4 separate regions of the Homo sapiens genome follow, and all the other regions are linked to region 2. Evidence: promoter capture Hi-C in human tissues and cell types (Jung and others, 2019). All regions are on one chromosome and are shown on one strand. The core of a region is centred on a gene start or on the middle of the fragment in contact, and the rest is flanking DNA. Distances in the headings are between cores, read along the strand shown.

The links. The method cuts DNA at HindIII sites, captures the fragments that hold promoters and counts their contacts. A contact is called where the count stands out against the background at its distance.
Region 1: a fragment that was not itself captured here is called in contact with the fragment with the promoter of CT62 in region 2 in 2 of the 25 tissues and cell types used here (adrenal gland and dorsolateral prefrontal cortex).
Region 3: a fragment that was not itself captured here is called in contact with the fragment with the promoter of CT62 in region 2 in 1 of the 25 tissues and cell types used here (mesendoderm cells).
Region 4: a fragment that was not itself captured here is called in contact with the fragment with the promoter of CT62 in region 2 in 5 of the 25 tissues and cell types used here (H1 embryonic stem cells, IMR-90 fibroblasts, dorsolateral prefrontal cortex and 2 more).

The regions. Positions count from the first base shown.
Region 1 is chr15:71,683,506-71,687,875 of GRCh38, reverse strand. All of the region lies in intron 8 of THSD4 (thrombospondin type 1 domain containing 4), which reads right to left. Among named protein-coding and RNA genes, the nearest start is that of THSD4-AS2, 5.8 kb to the left of the region's middle. The HindIII fragment of the contact is 4,039 bases long and covers 298-4,336 here.
Region 2 is chr15:71,113,322-71,118,119 of GRCh38, reverse strand. CT62 (cancer/testis associated 62) reads left to right here and starts at 2,616. Exons shown (of 4, transcript NR_168260.1): 1 at 2,616-3,196; 2 at 4,357-4,489. THSD4 (thrombospondin type 1 domain containing 4) reads right to left here and starts at 2,649. Exons shown (of 18, transcript NM_024817.3): 1 at 2,422-2,649. RefSeq lists silencers at 2,256-2,345, 2,496-2,635, 2,666-2,725, 2,572-2,749, 2,786-2,835. The HindIII fragment of the contact is 8,632 bases long and covers 1-4,798 here.
Region 3 is chr15:71,748,539-71,753,043 of GRCh38, reverse strand. It overlaps THSD4 (thrombospondin type 1 domain containing 4), which reads right to left. Exons shown (of 18, transcript NM_024817.3): 14 at 4,450-4,505. Among named protein-coding and RNA genes, the nearest start is that of THSD4-AS2, 59 kb to the right of the region's middle. The HindIII fragment of the contact is 4,117 bases long and covers 1,197-4,505 here.
Region 4 is chr15:71,824,900-71,829,784 of GRCh38, reverse strand. It overlaps MYO9A (myosin IXA), which reads left to right. Exons shown (of 42, transcript NM_006901.4): 41 at 1,759-1,901; 42 at 2,742-4,885. The coding sequence ends at 3,205. Among named protein-coding and RNA genes, the nearest start is that of NR2E3, 17 kb to the right of the region's middle. The HindIII fragment of the contact is 4,731 bases long and covers 1-3,941 here.

The DNA of each region.
Region 1 (4,370 bases), core at 1,068-3,567, 570 kb before region 2:
TGCATATTGGCATACTTTGCATTAGTAATTTCCAAATATTTGCATTCAAATATTTTTGATTGATGAATGGTTGATACAGATGAATTTCTGAGGTGCTGGTTTGTTTTTTTTTTTTTTTTTGAGACAGAGTTTCACTCTTGTTGCCCAGACTGGAGTGTAATGGCACGATCTCAGCTCACTGCAGCCTCCGTCTCCCGGGTTCAAGCAATTCTCCTGCCTCAGCCTTCCGAGTAACTGGGATTACAGGTGCCCACCACCACTCCTGGCTAATTTTTGTATTTTTAGTAGAGACAGGGTTTCACCATGTTGGCCAGGCTGGTCTCAAACTCCTGGCTCAGGTGATCCACTCGCCTTGGCCCCCCAAAGTGCTGGGATTACCGGTGTGAGCAATGGCGCCTGGCCAAGGTGCTGGCTTTTAAGGTTAGCTTGTGAGTTCAGCCGTTTTAGTGGTTTTTCACGGTCTCTTATGCCTGTTTTCTAAAAACAGAAAGTGCTGTCAGGAGGAAGCAATAATGCTCTGGTTATAGCTTCCTGGTCCTAACAGCAAATATCCCATAACTTCTAAAAATTATAGCATAATTTTTCATATAGAATAAAATTTAAAACAGCAAAACCTAACAACATTAAGAGGTGGACTCAATAGTCCTTAAAGAACAAGCAGTTAAAGAAGGTGGACATCTAGTGAGAAGTCTGTAGTTTAATTTTTATTCTCTAGGGGTTAATAGATGCCACCTGCCTCATGCTCAGAGTTGACTATGAAACTTTTATCAACTAAATGTTGGAAGGAAGCGTGATATCCTGCTTTGGTACCAGCCAACAGGCAGGATATGTGACTGTCCATTGCCTTGGTTACTGTTCATCTGCGTGCTGGTAGAACTCTCCTTTAAGATGGTCAACTAGTGTTGACTGAGATATTCCTAAGTCTTAACCAGTTTTCGGACCCCTGCCAGGAATTCATTTAGTGTGGCGGTCACCAAAACACAGTCTCTGAGCCAAATATGGCCTGCCACCTGCTTTTGTAAATAAAGTTTTATTGGAATCAGTCACTGCTTTTGCATAGGAGAGTTGAGTAGTTGTGACAGTGTCCATAGGGACTGCAAAGCCTAAAATATTTCCTATCTGGCTGTAAATCTTCAGTTTTCTTGCTACTGCTTCCCCCCACAGAGATTGGAACAACAGAGTGCACCATGTCCTCCATCACTACTGACTTCCCCTTCCCCCAAGAATGGGTCTAGGGACTCCTCCTCTTCCTTTGTCCTTATAACCCAAGCTTAGCAATATGGTGTTTGTGGGTGAAACGTCATGTCATTACTCTCACTATCCCATGTGTTCTGATTTCATGGTTTATATCAACTGACAGAGACTGATGAAGTGATGAAGAGGCAGTGCTCTGGCCATCTCAAAACAAAGGTGCTCCTATGTGGAGGGAACAGCTGTCCTTTTTTGTCTGGTATAAACTGTATAGCCCTGATTCAGTAGACAGAGAGAGAAACAGTTTCTTTCTCACCTCAGCCCTCAAAATCATGCAGACTACACTCTCCAAAGCAATACAATCAGGTATTAACAGCACAAATGCAACCAGTTAAGCATGTAAATCTCAACAGATGCCTCAAGTAGTTTGGGTTAATAAGTGAATCCAACTTACACATCATGGGTATAGAGTTTCAGTTTTGGAAGATGAAGAAAGTTCTATGGATGGGTGCTGTTGATGGTTGTACAATAATGTGAATGTGCTTAATGCCACTGAACTGTACATTTAAAATGGTTAAAATGGTAAATTTTATGTTATATATATTTTACCATAAAGTTTTAAAAATTTCTTATTAGGGGAAGCTGGGTTAAGAGTACATGGGAACTCTGCATTCTCTCTGCAACTCTTCTGTAAATTTAACATTACTTGAAAATAAAAAGTTTAAAAAAATGGATATATTTCCATTTACTTGGAAAAGTATATCTGAAAGTATGGTCCTTAAGATCCTCTCAGGGGATCTTTGAGATTAAACCTATTTCCATAACAACTCTAAGATGCTATTTGCCTTTTTTTCTCTTACTCATGAGTATAAAGAACATGACAAGTTTATTGATGTGGTTTCAGATTTCCCATTGCAACTAACCTTTAAGAAACTACCACTTTTCTAGTTTGGTATAGTATCAAAGGAGAAGATTCACAATGATCTGAAAAGACCACTAAACTACCTCTCTATTTTCCAACTACATATTTATGTGAAACCAGATTTTCTTCATATACTTTAGCCAAATAATCTATCACAATAGATTGGAGAAGCAGATATGAGAATCCAGCTGTCTTCTATTAGGCCAGACATTAAAAGATACAGTATTTGCAAATTGTAAAATGATGCCACTCTTCTCAAAATGTTTTTGCTCTGGGAAATAGTTACTTTAAAAAAACTGTTACTGTATTATATAGTGAGTTTATTATTGTTATTTGAAAGCAAAGTAATATAAAATTCTCAAATTTCAGTTTAAAATGTGAATACTGTAAATATTAACGAATAAATTCATATGAACAAAAGCTCTCTGGGGTCTTCAGTTTTAAAGAGGAGAAAAGGGTCCTGAGATGAAAACATTTAAGAACCACTGAGAAAACAGCAAAAACAGAAGTGTCACACATTGAATTTATGCAATTTAAATACTCTTATTTCTTTTTTTTTTAAAAAGAGGAAACCAAGGTAGAAATCATAAAACAGAAGTATGTGAATTCAAGAAAGAAAAACACACATAAGAACCTGAGAGCTGGTCTCCAAGACATTTTTGAAAATAAGCAAATTTAATAAAAAAGCAATAAAGCCCAAATAAGAGAATATATCAGATGATGCTGAAATTAAAAGTGAATTTGATATGTAATTCTATACTACATTTGAAATTCTCCATGAAAAAGATACATTAAAAAATTACCAGCTTGATTTAAGATGAACAAGAAAACATAGTAGACTCACAGCCATAGAAGAATTGTTACAAGTTAGCAGTAATTTCTTCCAAAAATATTCTAGTGCCAGATGTTTTTTATTGGTGAGTTTTTATAAAAATCTGAAGGAACAGATTATTATATAAGCTTTTCCAGAGCACATAAAAATTGGAACACTAACCTAACCTCCACCTCAGAGAGGTAGCACAAAATGAAAACAATAGGCCAATCTCACTTCGGAATACAGATTTTAAAAATCCCAAATAAGGTCCTAGCAAATTGAATTCAACAGAACATTAAAAAAACCATTCAGCAAGATGAAACAGGGTATAATCCAGGAATTCAAGGATAATATAGAAAACTTTAAAGAAAAAATAACGTAAGTAGGTGCCAAAATGTCATTTAAAACTCATCCTGGTAAAAAAAAAAAAAGATTACAAGATTAGAAATAGACTTTCTTACCCCAATGATGAGCATGTAATCATATATTCAATTAAAATATTTATTGAGCATACATCCATTTTCCTTGCTAGTAAAAATTAGGAGCATTCACATTAAAATCAGAGATAGGTTAAGGATGTCTGCTATTCAGAGTAATTACTATTGGAAAGGAGGAGGCAATATTATAATTATTTCTATATGGTATGATTATATCACTAGAAAACGATGAGAATCAACTCAAATTACTCAGAATTTATAAAAGCGCAACGAAATTACCAGATAGAGGTAAATATAAAAAAACCCATAACTTTTCTGTATATTGATAAGAATTTTAGAGATAAAAAGGAACAGATTCCATTCTTTGTCATCATCATCATACCACAGCAAAATGCAATTAAATACCTATGATGAATCTTTACAAGGAATGCAGAGAATTTATATGGAAAATAACAAAACTTCACTGGCAGATGTAAGCTATTTGAATAAACGGTAATAAATGCTATGTTCTTAGACTGAATGGTTTTGTTGCTGTTTTGAGATGGAGTCTTGCTCTGTCGTCCAGGCTAGAGTGCAGTGGTGTGATCTTGGCTCACTGCAACCTTGCCTCCTGGGTTCAAGTGATTCTCATGCCTCAACCTCCTGAGTAGCTGGGACTATGGGCACCTCCCACCATGCCCAGCTAAATTTTTGTATTTTTAGTACAGATGGGGTTTCACCTGTTGGCCAGGTTGTTCTCAAACTCCTGACCTCAAGTAGGCCGTTCGGCTCGGCCTCCCAAAGTGCTGGGATTACAGGTGTAAGCCACTGAGCCTGGCCAGACTGAACATTTTAACCATGTCTACTCCTCCCAAATGAATTTATAGATCTAATACACTCTGGGCATGAATCAGGTTGGAATTCAAGGATCACATTCCTTAAGACATTGACAACCTAACTCAAATAGCAGCCTGCTCTTCCAGCCAGCACTCATTCTCCTCTTCCCCTGTTTTATTTTTTATAGCAT
Region 2 (4,798 bases), core at 1,367-3,866:
GTCCTCCCTCCCCACCAGCCTTTCCCATCTCCTTGAACTCCTCCTTAGGCTTCAAAGCCCAGTGGTAACTGCCCTAGCTCCTCCCATGCAGAATCAATTTCTCCCTCATTCGCATCTCCTTGATGTTTTGCACATCCCCCTTGTATTGCGGTTATTTCTTTACTTCCCTTTCTCCCCTGGGTGGTTATTTATCATCTGCTAGCCTGTGGACTCCCTGAAGGCAATGATATTGTCTTGTTCATAGCGTAAGCTCCAGCACATAGTAACAGTCCCTGGCACATAGTAACAGTCCCTGGCACATAGCAGACGCTCAGAAATATCTGTTGGAGATAAATTAAATAGAAGTGAATACTGGGGAGCCATTGTGATTTCTTGAGAGAAATGATGTGGTGAAATCAGAATTTCAGAAATATTAATCTATCAGCATGAAAGAAGATGGATTAAAATGAAGAAAGCAACTCGTGGCTGGGAGTCAAGAGGGGAGATTATTACTGTAATTTGGACATGGTTGAAGGTGGGGGCAGTGGGAATGGAGACAGGTAAATAATTCCTCAGATATCACAAAAGAATGTGGAAGAGATTTTGCGATGAATGAGCTATAAATGTGGGGGACAGAATGGGAGTGTTGGGAACATTTAAACATTGAGACTCCCAGCAATTAGGATAAAAGTGGTACCATGGAGAGAAATGTGGGGGATGGAGAAGACGGCAATACACAGCCTCTGTGTAGGATAACTGATTGCAATCTCCACAAGTTTTTCGAGGCAAAAACAAAAACAAACTCCAAGTCAAAAATCTCCCCACCCCTGATCTTCCTCCCAAACTCTGGGCTGTATTTTTCTTTCGCTAACAGCCAGTAAGAAATATTTCTTTATGGCATAGGAGACTAAAAAGAAGGTAATGCCAAGCTGGTGCCCCGCCCAGTGCTGGGCACAGAGGAGATCACATGAGTTCCACTGGCCAGCCTCCCCACAAGAAACCAACCCAGTTGCTTATTCAGAAGGGGCTCCAGTATCCTGATCACCCAAACTCATTTCCCAGGCCCAGACCTCTGGGAAATCCCTGCTCCAGCCCTGCAGAGATTTATAGGAAAGTCCCAGGACGCCCATCTGCTTGCTTCCTCACATTAATTTCAGGGCTAGGATTTTGTTTTCTAAAGGAATTCAACTATGATGCCAACAAAAATCTATAGGAATTGAAGAGTTCCGTATTTTAAGTCACATTTTTAAAATGTTTGCTTCTTTGTATATTGAGACCCAGTAAGACCCTAGTAAGCCCAGTTACTCCATCACCTCCAACAATATTAATCAAGTAGAAGACACGCGGATTTTAAAAGCTGTGTGATCCTTGAAAAATCTTCAGACTGTCAGGGGTCCTGGGTGCCTCCAACTGTGAAAGGAGGGTTGGACAAGGCGATTCCTTAGATCTCTCTCGGGTATCTATTTCTCTAATTCCAAATTCCAACAGGCATCCAATGATTGCTACCCACGTCCAAGCTTTAGACTCATAGCCCGAAAAGGGCGAAGCGCAGCGTGGTAGAGATCGCAAAGGAGACAGGAAGAGAAGCAAGCATGCACTTTTAGTAAGACGGCAAAGGAGGCTGGGAGGTACGGTGCTGGGTGCGGACTGCTTAAAAAACTTACTAGACCACAAATTCCAGATACTTAGGTGGGCCCGAGAACGCCCTAAAATCCCCTTCCCAAGTGAGGGCTGATGTTATTTCAAATAAAAAGAAAACTTAACTTCCAGATCTGTAGAGCTCCAAGGTGAGCTCGCTGTGCAAAAGCTACTTCTGTAAGTGCGCCAAGGGGCCGCAGGTACTTAGGCTGCACTTGAGGAAGTGTCCAGAGTTGGCGGAAACAACCCATCCACTCGGGCTCCAGGCGCTCGCTGGGTTGCAGCAACTAAACTGAGACAGACAGACACACAGATCCGAGGCCCCAGGCCAGGACTCAAGGAGCGCTGACCGAGACTTGCCCGGCTCTCGGGCCCCAGGCGGGAGGGAGGCGAGGCTGAGGTGGGGGGCGCACGGGCTGGGTGTGCACTCGCCGGTCCCCTCCGACCCGACCCGGGGAGCACGGGGCCCCGACCCGGGGACGACTGAGGTGGATTGTCCCTAGAGTTTAAGACTGTCCCTAGAGTCGAGGGTGGAGGGATGAGCGCCGGCGCCAGCACAGAGCAAGACTCCCAGCAAGGAAGAGAACCAGAGAAGGAGGCGCAGCCGTCCGCACGGACCAGGCGCGCGCTGGCTCCCCGAGCCCGGAGCGGCGCAGCCCGCGGCGCCCCGGACACACCCACTGGGTAGCCCGCGCCAGCCCGCCCCGCCGGCCAGAGAGCGGGAGCCGGAGCCTGGGCAGCGGAAGCCGGGTCGGGGCCGCGCGGGCGGCGCGCAGGGGACGCGGGGCGCGCGGCTCTGCTCACCTGGCGGTCCGCGTCCCGGAGCGACCGGCGGCCGCCTCGCCTCGCCTCGCCCCCGCGTGGTTCCCGGCGCCGGGCAGCCCCGAGCGCCGCCGCATGGACGGCCGCCACCGCCGCCCAGCCGCCCCGCGCCCGCCCTGCACGGGCTCCCGCTGTGCCCCGATTCCGCGTCGGGCTGCGCGGGCGGCCAGCGGTTCAGGCGCGCGCGGAGAGCTCTGGCTCAGAGTTTGCGATCCGAGAGCGGGATCCGCGCTCCCTCGGTCCTTCCTCCCTCCCCTCTTGCGGCCTCCCGCTGTCATCTGGAGCCGCTCCTGCCGCCCCCTGGCGGCGACCGCGGGAAGGGCCGGCCCCCATCCGCACCCCTGACCCCGGAGGTCAACAACGGGATGGTCCCTGGGTCCCAGGGGAAGAGACATCACCCAGTAGGAGGGAGTACGGTCTAGACAGAGGCCACGAGGGCGGGAGGGGGCGAGAGTGGAGAGTGGCCCAGCTGGCCAGGGTCGTCTAAGTGAGAGGAAAAGGGAGAGGGCGGTTGAGACCAGGCCCTGAATTCCGCGTTCATCTTATCCTGAGGTCTGTGGGGACCTGTTGAAGGACTGGGGCAGGGGACGGACGCGGGCATCCTTCCATTTGGAACAGCCATTCCGGCAGCATCAGGATGGGGCGGAGGCAAAGCGGGGAGTGGGCGAGGCAAGTGGTGCTGTAAACCTGTGCGAGAAGGGGGCGGTGACTCTAAGGGCAGGAAGGAGCCCTGGTCACACACACACTCCCACGCAAGGTAGGACGCGCTGGGCTCCTTCTGAGGCCAAGGGGAAAGGACAAGAGCCCTCCAAATTCCAACGGGGGTTAGACAGCATGGGGAGGAGACACACACACCCTGACGGCCAGAGCCGTTCGGGATTCTTTCTTGTCTTATTCAGAGTAATATTTTGTTGGGGAAAAAAAAGCCTGCTGCAAAAAAATAATAATTCTTCTCATTAGTAATGATAAAAATCAAACTTTGATCCCTTCATTTTACGAATTGGGAAATTATTGCCCCCAAAAGGGCATGACCAAAGTGACGCGTTTAGTTAATGGAGGGAAAATTGCTAGGGCCCCGTTTCTTGAGTCCTAATTCAGAGCCAAATTCTTTACATTCGAGCCAAGGTGTTCAGAGCTGGGAAGGCAGGAAATAGAGTGACTGTGAGGAACTGTCTCTTCTTTCCCCAGAGCAGGGAGGGGGTGACAAATATTTGAAGAGGCTGTCCAGATACAGGCGTTTCCCTAAATTTCAGTCAGCCTGTTTGTTTATCGCTGCCTCTAAAGCTTGCCTGCAGGGGTTGTTTTGAAAGTGCAGGTATACCGAGAGGACAATGAAGGAGGTGGCAGAATGCAAGCTCCCTGCCCCAGAGCCAGGCAGCACCAGGGCTGGGTGCAGAGCGCTTCGTGGGAGCAGAAGGGAGCTCCCAGGGAAGATTGTCCTCCAGAAAAAAAAAAAAATTAACAAAAGGGAAAGAGGCTACTCAAGAGATTAGGCCAAAGAAAGAAACACCATTTTGAGCACCGACTACTGGCCCGGAGCCTGGCAGAGCCAGTTCTGATTGATTCAAGAGCTGGTTCCAATGGGATGAAATAATTCCACACTTGATCAAACAGATTTTGATGGGAGGCACCTGGTGTAAATGGGATTAGATTAATTCTGAGTGTCACGAGTCTCATGGGTCCAAATTAAGTCGATCTAACAGCTCTAGTAAATACTGGCCAGTTTAAACCATTTAGAACTGATTTAAAAAAAAAAACCTGCGCAACTTTAGAATGTACTTAATGTCACTGAATTATACACTTAAAAATGGTTAAAATGGAAATTTTTATGTTATGTACATTTTACCATAATTTTAAAAAAGCAAAACTAATAAGATTTGTTCAAACAAGATTGATTTATTCATTCATTCGAGACAGGTATTCAGTGCCGAGTGTGGCCTTGGTGCTAGGATTCAAAGAGGAAAGGAAGAAAACTTTCCATTCTAAAAGAAACTCCACGTGAGGCGAAGAAGATGAAATATAGTCAGAAAACCATACCAGTAGGTGGTAGGTAAATGCAGAAGTATTTAAGAGCTCATACAGGAGTACCTGCCTCAGGACAGGGAATCTGAGATGCTCTGCAGAGCTGGATCTTAAAGAACGGAGTGAGTTCATCACATAATGTCTGGGGCGAACAGGGCTCAGGAGCAAAGGATGTGGTTTTGTTTGTTATTTTTTAATTTTGAAATAATTTTAGACAAGTTTCACAAATAGTACAAAGAATCCCCTTATATCCCCCACCCTCTTCCTCTAATGTTAACATCCGACATAACCAAAGTATGATTATTAGTGAGCAAACTTGATTCGACAGACCTAGGCT
Region 3 (4,505 bases), core at 2,006-4,505, 630 kb before region 2:
TTCTTTGGTCTCTCCCTCTTGAGCTTATTGAGTCGGAAGCTGTGTCTCGTTCATGACTGGCATGTAACAGGTGCTCAACACGTGTTTATTCCCAGTAATAAAAAATTTCATAGTTCAGACTAAAGCTTAACGAGGCCATTTTCTACACAAAGCAACTATTCAAAAGTGGAAGACTGCCATCCGCTGGTCATTCCAGGGGCTGAACCTTTTCTAAGACCAACTGGTGGCCCAAAGGCCCCTGGTAACACGCAGCTGAAGAAGAATGAAGCAGCCCACAGGAAATCCTTCCCACTGTGCCAACCTCATCTAGGTCATAGCTTCAAATATATTACTGCAGCGGTTACTCAGCAATGTTACAGTTGAAAAAACTGAAGCTCGGTGAATCAGTAGCTGGCTCAGGGTCAAATACGAAATAAGTGATGGTCATGGAGATGATACCAAAGCCAATGTGCGTTTCTTAAACCCAATAGTACTCCCTTCCCACTCATCTACTCTAAAATAAGCATGAACATTTAGAATTCATGATCTATTCTGAGGGTAGATAAGGCAAAAATTATTTACTTACACCATAGCACCCAACTTGCATGATTTAGAACATCTTTTCCAAAACGAACGAAAGAGTTCCCTGAATAGAATAAAGTGCTCATTCTTTGCTCTATTTATAATTTTAAGCCAAGCTAGATTCGGCAAGAACTTATGTTGAAATGCAAAGCAAAATTACTTTAAGGGGAAATCTGCAAGTCATTATTGGAGAGGAAATAGGTAGAGTGGAAATCTTTGGAAAATTTACATGTAGCTTTTTACTGTTCTAAATAAATGTGGGAGACACACAGAGGAATGAACCACTGCAGCTATTTTCCCCACAGAGTTGTTTTTTCTCTGTACGTATTGTGCTCTGTGCCCCCTGCCTTTTCAGAGAGTGGCAAATGTAGAGACATGGAATTTACAAACTAAAGAATCATGGCAACAAAATGACTGTAAAAGCGCTCTCAGTTGCTGCTTGGAAGACTACACCGAAATAATCTTTCTGGAGAACAATTAGCTAAAATGTATTAAGAGTTCAAAAAGCATTCATAATATTTTCCCATAATTTAACATGATTCCACGCCCCCACTATTTTACAGAGATAAGAAGAGGTGCATATAAAGATTTATGCACAAGAACACTTACTGAAGTCTTTTAAAATATTCTGTTTTAAACAGTAAAACATCACCCGTGTATGGAGGCTTATAACTGTAATCCCAGCTACTCAGGAGGCTGAGGAGGGAGGATCACTAGAGCCCAGGAGGTCAAGGCTTCAGTGAGCCATGATTGTGCCACTGCAGTCCAGCCTGGGCAACAGAGCAAGACCTGGTCTCAAAAATAAAAATAAAAATAAAAATAAAAATAAAAACTAGAAAATCCCAAACATTTAGAAATAGGAGATTGTTTCAGTTATATAGTTCTATAGCTTATTATAATAAAAATCATGTTTTAAAGATTTTATGCTTATAATAATTAAGTGAAAAGAGGTGACCAAATTATACATACATTATGATATAAAGATACATTTATATCTTTAAAATACGTATGAGGAAAAAAAGCTATGTAGGTAAAGTATGTATGAGAAGAAAAAACTTGAAGTATAGCTTAATCTCAAATTTTCTTTTGGTGAAGAGGTTTGGAGCATACTTTTCCAAATTTCTCATATTCTTAAAACAATACTGTGTTACTTTTTAACCAGAAAAAAGCCAACATTTTTAAGAAAAAGAATCATTCCAATATAAAAATGAAAGTCCAGCATCATTCTTTTCATCCATTTGCTGATACAGGAAATCCATCAAGTTTACTGAGAACACGAATGAGTTCAGAAACTGAAGCACAAAAGGATTAGTTGAGGAAACTAGATATTTTTAGCCTGGAGAAAGTGGAAGGGGTTCCCCAATGGCTGTAGGGCTGTCCTTTTCTAAAGGACAGTGGGACTTAGTAAGAAACACTTTGGTTAACTGTAAAAGGAGACCTCTTGACACCTTGAGCTGTACAAGAAATAGATGTAATTGTCTGGACACAGGGTGAATTTCTGATAAAGGGTTTGGGCAAGAGCTGTGACCTATGTCAGGGGCACTGCAGAGGATTCCTCATGCTGGCAAGGAGGCTGAGCTCACAAACACCTTCCCCCACTGTTTCCGCAGTACCATGCGCTAATGTTTGGGATGGGAGGCTTGGAAAATAGGGATACACCGAAGAACTAGGATGAGCTCTCCTGGACTCAGCTTTAGGGCAGAAGCTTGAGTCAGTGGCCAGATCAGCACTTACTCTCCATCTGTTTCTCTTTGGTTAGAGCCTCCCAGATGGCCAAATTAGTGTCTGCTCCTGGGACTGGGGGCACAGTCAGATGCTCATCTTGGAAGCTCAGTATTTGCACCAAGGGCTGTCCATCTGGGGCCATCGTGGGCCTAAGGGGCAGGGGCCATATGCCATGAGGTGTGGGGAACACACAAGAAGATGAGCCGCTAGGTAAGAATCTCCAGGACCATCTCTGGAGGTGGAGTGAAGGCTGCATTTGCAGGTTTGTCCTTCCTCTCTTTCTGGATAACACTCCCTGTGGAAGTGGATTGTTATGGTGATAGAGGGACAAAATGAAGGGGCATCTTACACCGCAGAGGGAGAGAAAACCTATGTGAACACCTCTAGGGGTGATATTCAAAATACTCAATAACAGGTGCATGGTGGCCATTGACCGGTCAGAATGGACACTGACCAGTTGGAGTCAGCCAATGTGGCCGTATGGGGCATGTCTGCTGATATCCCCAAACTGCGTGAAAGGGTCCTTCTTTGAGTCTGAGATACTATGGTTGTTGTTCTCATGATGCTGGGAGTGGGGACGGGGTGGGGGCTCATGGGCTGCATCGTGTCTCCTAAGATCCAAGAACATGGCTGGGCTCCTCTGTCTTTTTTATGGCCTTGTTATTCAGAGTGTGGTCCTTGGACCAGTGGCCTCAGAGACCCTGGGAACCTATTAGAAATGTAGGCTGTGGCCAGGCACAGTGGCTCATGCCTACAATTCCAGGGCTTCGGGAGGCCGAGGTGGCAGATCACTTGAGCCCAGGAGTTTGAGACCAGCTTGGGCAACATGGTGAAACCACAAACAAATACAAAAAATTAGCCGGGGTGGTGGCGCGCACCTATAGTCCCACCTACGTTGGCGGGAGGGGGGCAGGGGGTGCTGAGGCAGGAGGATTGCTTGATCCCAGCAGGTCGAGGCTGCAGTGAGCTGAGATTGCACCACTGCACTCCAGCCCGGGCAATAGAATGAGACCCGGTCTCAAAATAAATAAATAAATAAATAAATAAATAAATAAATAAAAATTTAAAAATATAAAAATATTAAAAAAAAGAAAGAAAATAAATGTAGAATCCCTGGCTCCTCCCCACACCTGCTGCCTCAGACCTACACTTTAATGCGGTTCACAGGTAACGTGTACGCACGGGATTCTAGCAAGGGAAGTGGGGCAGAACTAGTGTATCCGAGAGGTAGGCCGCTAACCAAGGTCAGAGATAGCCAATCATGTCCTCATCCCAGGTAAACTCCCTAGATCTCCTAGAGAATCCAGAATCTGGACTTGGTGCCTCTCACAGCTGTGCAGCTGCCCTGGGCAAACCCTCTGACTGGCCATCCCATGCCCGCCAATGCGCCGATCCCACCAGGAAAGGAAGCACAATTCCTTATCTCCTTCCTCTTTTCTTCTCCCTGTCCCAAGGTATGTTCTACAATTTGTTTAGTGTCTTTTCTCAAACTTCATTTTTGATTGTGGTAGAATACACATAGCATGAAATTGACCATCGTAACCACTTTTAAGCCCACACCTCCAGGGCATTAGGTGCATTCATGCTGTTGTGTAACCAACATCACTCCATCTGCAGAAACCCCTTTTCATATAAATCCTCCTTTTGCCTTTGATGGATGAATTTAATATATGACTGTTTTCCCTTATATCCAGGTAACTGGTGGGCTAATGGTTGACTATATATGCCTTTGAGTTATTCTTTGACACCTGAGACTTCCCATGGGAGGCCAGGCTACTGGGGAGGGAACGGGGTGTGGGATGTTTTGAGTTGGCAAAAAGCAGTAGAGGGGCCTGCCATTGCTGAGTGTCTATGAGACACCAGGCACTTACAAGACATATGAACGATGGGATGTAATGATTCACTTCACCTAGTATTATGGAGTGACCACATGGAGTGCTAAGGAGAATTCAATCAAGTTTTGCATACACCCTCCTCACCTTTGGAGACCCTCAGTCCTCACATAAGGATAGAAAGCCTACGATAATTCCTCTCTGGGCCTTTTTTTTCCCCCCAGAGCCAGAAATCAGTCTTGGGATTCTGAGCTAGTGACTCATCTTTGTGTGGTTTTGGAGGCACCTGGCAGACCTCGGTCCCCGGCGCTCTGCCCGCCATCACACTCACCCTTTCGCTCCACTCGGTGAGGAACCAGCTCTTGGCACAGGGTCCCATGTCGCAGT
Region 4 (4,885 bases), core at 327-2,826, 710 kb before region 2:
GCCAAGATGAGGTACTGGAGTCCTAACAGGTCGGAGACCAGCCTCCATGAACAGATTTATTTTGCAAAGAAGAGAAGGAATTCTTAGGCTAAGCCAAAGTCCCTTTCAAGAATGGGCATTATTCACAAATCCATGAAGGAAGGTTATTAGCCAAAGATCCATATGACCATGGGAACAGCAACTAGATGGTCATAGTAAGGCTATAGCCCTAGAGGGTGCTAGGATACTAGATAGGGAAATTGGTTGCAATTTAGGAGAGAGACAAATGAGAAGCTCTTTTACCTCCATTCATCACTGTTGCAGGGATTGGGTGACAGTATGCCTTGGGGATAATATGAACGTGCCATGGTTCTCCCTACAGGTGCTGTGTAATAGTTCTGGTCGACATTGATGACTCTTAGGAAGTCTTAATGGGATCTTTATTCCTGAGTTCCAGGATCCCAGGTCTTGAGTTTGGTTTATAAGGGGATATAAGACTGTTAAAATACTTTCTTGGTCTCTCATGATTGATTCTGGAATATAGGCCAGCTAAAAAAGCAGCTGGGGCTCAGCTGTAAAAAACATGATAAGGCAAAGATGATGTACATTGACCAGGGGCTATTTGCTAGAAGAGTGATCTGAAAAGAAGACCCAGTTTGGCTTTGATGCAGATGATATTGGCAGTCTTGAAGGATTAATAGGAATTTTCAAGGAAGGGGAGAGTCTCTAGAAAAAGAAAGAAGAACGAGCAGAGTCTCAGAATGCACATGGCCTCAGACAATTGTAATGCTGGTGATACTGTTCTTGAAATGATTGTTCATGGATCTCAAGCCAGGTAAAGGGGAAGTAAAGGTAAGGGGCTCTGTTAGGGAAGAGACTTGATTAGAAGGTGAGTAAGAATTGGAAGGATAAGGAGGTTGTGAACAGGGTGGAGTGTTGGATTCAGAGTAATGACAAGCTCCAGGATCTGTGCATTGGAGAAAGTAGCTTAGATAAAGTAGAGGAGAATATTGTTAGAAGTTGCAGACATAAAGGAACTTCAGTGTTAGAATATTCAGATGAGTTTTTACAAAGATATTAATTGAATAGATCAGGTGATGTCAGGCATTAGTGAAAAAGCAAGATTAGGATCTGAGTACCAAAGACCTCACAGAATGTGGGGCATTACTGAGAGGTAGCTGGGTGACCGTGATGAAGAAGGGAGACTAGAGAATACGACAACTGAAGATGGCATAAGCTTCAAAGGACAGAAAAGATCAATCAGTGTTTTTCTTCGTCTAGAGGTCTCTGTGGTGAAGATAGAGGGTATCGTCTATAGCCAGTTAGTAAGCTTCATGGAAAATAGTTTAAGAGCTGGAAGGAATCTTAGAGGTTATCTAGTTTAATCTCTTTGTTTTGTGGTAGGAAGCTGAGGTCCAGAAGAGAAAGGTACTTTCCTGATGCATTATGGATATTATGAACAAGGTTAGAGCCCTGATCTCCTGCTTATCAGTCCAGAGTTCATTTTACTGAAAGATCTCACCACTACATCTTTCTTCACCCTACCCTTACCCCTATTATTGGTCCTAGATTGGCTATCTGTCATTTTGTCCTTTAGTCCATATAGTTTTAGCCTTCACCATATTTGGCATACAGGTCCTCATCACCACCTGGATGGGGACAGTAAAAATGGACTCTCTTTGCTTCTTAGATTCCTGACTTCCATGGAGGATCTTTTTTTCTGTTATCTTCCTTCCACTTCCTATCAAATGCTAATGGTTTCTTGATTGTGTCTTACAGGGAGGAGCTAACATTTGAGATGCTTGTACTGGAACCCCGTGCCTCTGATGATGAAACCCTTGAGTCTGAGGCCTCCATTGGGACTGCTGATAGCTCAGAGAATTTGAATATGGAGTCTGAATATGCTATCTCTGAGAAATCAGGTAAGTGAACATGGTAGACCAAAGACTCCAGATTTGTTTTGCAAAGGAGGAATAAAGATTCCAAAACTAAGACAAAGTCTTTTAAGAATTTACTGACTGTACATCAGCAATAACAAAGTCTTGAGGAATTTTGTCCTTTTATCCATATAATTTTAGCCTTCATCGTTTGGCATACAGGTAGTGACCTGGATGGGGATAAGAAATATAAGGGGATAAGAAATATAATTGTCTTTGCTACTTAGATTCCTGACTTCCACGGAAGGTCTTTTTTTTCCTGTTGTCTTTGTAAAGCTTCCATATACATTGTTTATCAAACCAACTCTTCAACGTGATTGAGTTTTTTGTTTTTTGTTTTGTTTTGTTTTGTTTTTTGGTAATTTAATGTTTTATCCTGTACTTACCACAGAGAAAAGCCAATAATCACAATATATGTTGTCTTACTGACCCATAACCCATTTTCTGAGGGTGGCAGGCATTGTGCCCCCACTGTGAGGTGGGACTATATACATATACAAAGGAGGTGTTTAACTGGGTGGCATGTCTCAGGGAGATGTAGGACTTACCTGCATATCCTGGCAGTTTTTGAAATGATAGTGACTGTTCTAGGCCTCCGCTGATGGCATAGTCAAACACCAGATTTCCTTGGAGATGATTCGGAAATGCTACATAGAGAAATGGATGGTGAGCTCTTACTGTGACTGTGCCCATAGTAAGTCATCCTGGACCCTCTGAATCTTATCCCACCCAATTTCATGTGTGAACAGTGGCATCTATTCATTATATGATGATTTGCTTTAGAGGGCACTGTCATTTACATCTTTGGTCTCTTTTTTGCATTAGAAAGAAGCTTAGCCCTTAGCTCCCTGAAGACAGCTGGCAAGTCTGAACCTTCCAGCAAGTTGCGAAAGCAACTTAAAAAGCAGCAAGACTCTTTAGATGTCGTGGACTCTTCGGTCTCCTCTTTATGTCTGTCTAACACGGCATCATCTCATGGGACCAGAAAACTATTTCAGATTTATTCCAAATCTCCATTCTACCGAGCTGCCTCAGGTAATGAGGCCCTGGGAATGGAAGGACCATTGGGCCAGACCAAATTCCTGGAAGACAAGCCTCAGTTCATCAGCAGAGGAACCTTCAACCCGGAAAAGGGCAAACAAAAATTAAAGAATGTGAAAAACTCACCTCAGAAAACCAAAGAGACCCCAGAGGGGACAGTCATGTCTGGCCGCAGAAAAACTGTGGACCCAGACTGCACCTCCAACCAACAGCTAGCACTCTTTGGAAATAATGAATTTATGGTCTGAACCGGCAGATGTGTGTCCCTCCGTGGCTACAGAGTGGTAAACAAATCTCACCTTTGGGGCTGCGTTTCATCACCTCGTCCACAATAGTCAATCCTAATTGTGGTCCTGCCTCTTTTCTAAGCATATGGCTAAGACTGTATGTGCTGAATTCCTGGGCCTCCTGCAGAAGCAGAAAGCCTGCTGGGGATGGTGCCAGCTGTGCCTTGGCTGTTGTATTTGAATTGAGATTTTTACTATACAAAGCCACCTAGGGCCTGGGGATTTGGGTCAGTTGTAGTTGCCTCTCCCCCACCCTCTTTTCCCTTCCCAAAGGTGGGTGTTGAACTAGGGGGGATATTGCTGTCCTGAGGGACCCTCTCATTTCTGACATTTGAAGAAAACGTATAAATCTTTCTTAACCGTGAAAGCAAAAGCCTTTGGGTTTATTTTGGGATAGTTAGGAGCTAGGGTAGAATATAATTTTTTTCCAAAAACTTACTTACAAACAAAAAGCCTAATCCCTCTATTTTAAGATTTCTGAAAAAACACTCCATGTTATATTCTGGGGAAAGCAAAAACAAAAAAAAAAAACAAAAAAAAAAAAACAAAAAAAAACCGTGATTGTTTCCATTAAGCCATCAGAGCGTGTCTCAGATATCTTGTTATACAGTGAAGAAGAGAATACCTATTTTTTTTGATGATGTTTGATGTCATAGTAATCAGTGCTGGTTTAACTCCTGTTTAGTTCCTGCCAAATACATTGCATGGGCTGAAGTGTCAGTAGCCATACTGTTCTCATGTTTCTTGGTCCTAGGATCAGATTCTTCTACATTATTTTTTAGTTTCCCAGAGACATGGTGATCCCTAAACTTATGAAGGTTTCATCCTAAGCCATTCAGGCTTTTCTCTTTGTATAGATTAAACCGAAAACCGCATATGAGCCTGTTCATCTGCTGGTGGATTCCCACCACAGACTCAGACTCAAACAAACAAACAAATAATGTGACCGTTTAGTTAGTTTCCAAAAACATTCACATACAATATTGCATGAATAAGTAAGTAAGTGTTACAGAAAGCTGCCAAAAAATAAAAAGGTTTTTAATATGACCTATCTAACTAACTAACTTTTATCTTCCTTTTCTCAGACTATCAGTATTAAATAGATGGAAAAAAATCAAGGACTACTTGAAGCTATTTTTGTTAATATTCTGGTTACTGAAGTTTATTGTAAATATGTATGTATAGTAGGCATATTTCTTTTTAACCTTGTGCTTCCCTCCTTCCCATGGAATTTCTTCCCACAGATGAGGGGCCACTGGACAGGGGGATGAGAGCCATTCGTCCCTGGGTTGAGGGAATTAGTAAGACATCATTTTCACCACTGGGTGGTCTTCATACACATGAGTTATAATAGCATTTTAAGTATCTTAGCATTTGTGGGATTAGAAATCTGTTTTTGCTATTTATAATATATAAAAAATGAAACATGATAGCCTTTCTTGAGATAAGTATGTGAAATGTTTATTTTTAAAGTTACTAAATGCATCTTGTCTTGCTACTACATGCACTGCTCTGAAAAAGAGCCTTTACCATCTATAACCTGTATTTTGGGTATTCTTCCTTTTCATACTTCTTTGAAGTTGTGGAAATATTAAGTCTTTTGTTAAGGCAGAGTCTCTCTCTCCTGTTACACAACACTGA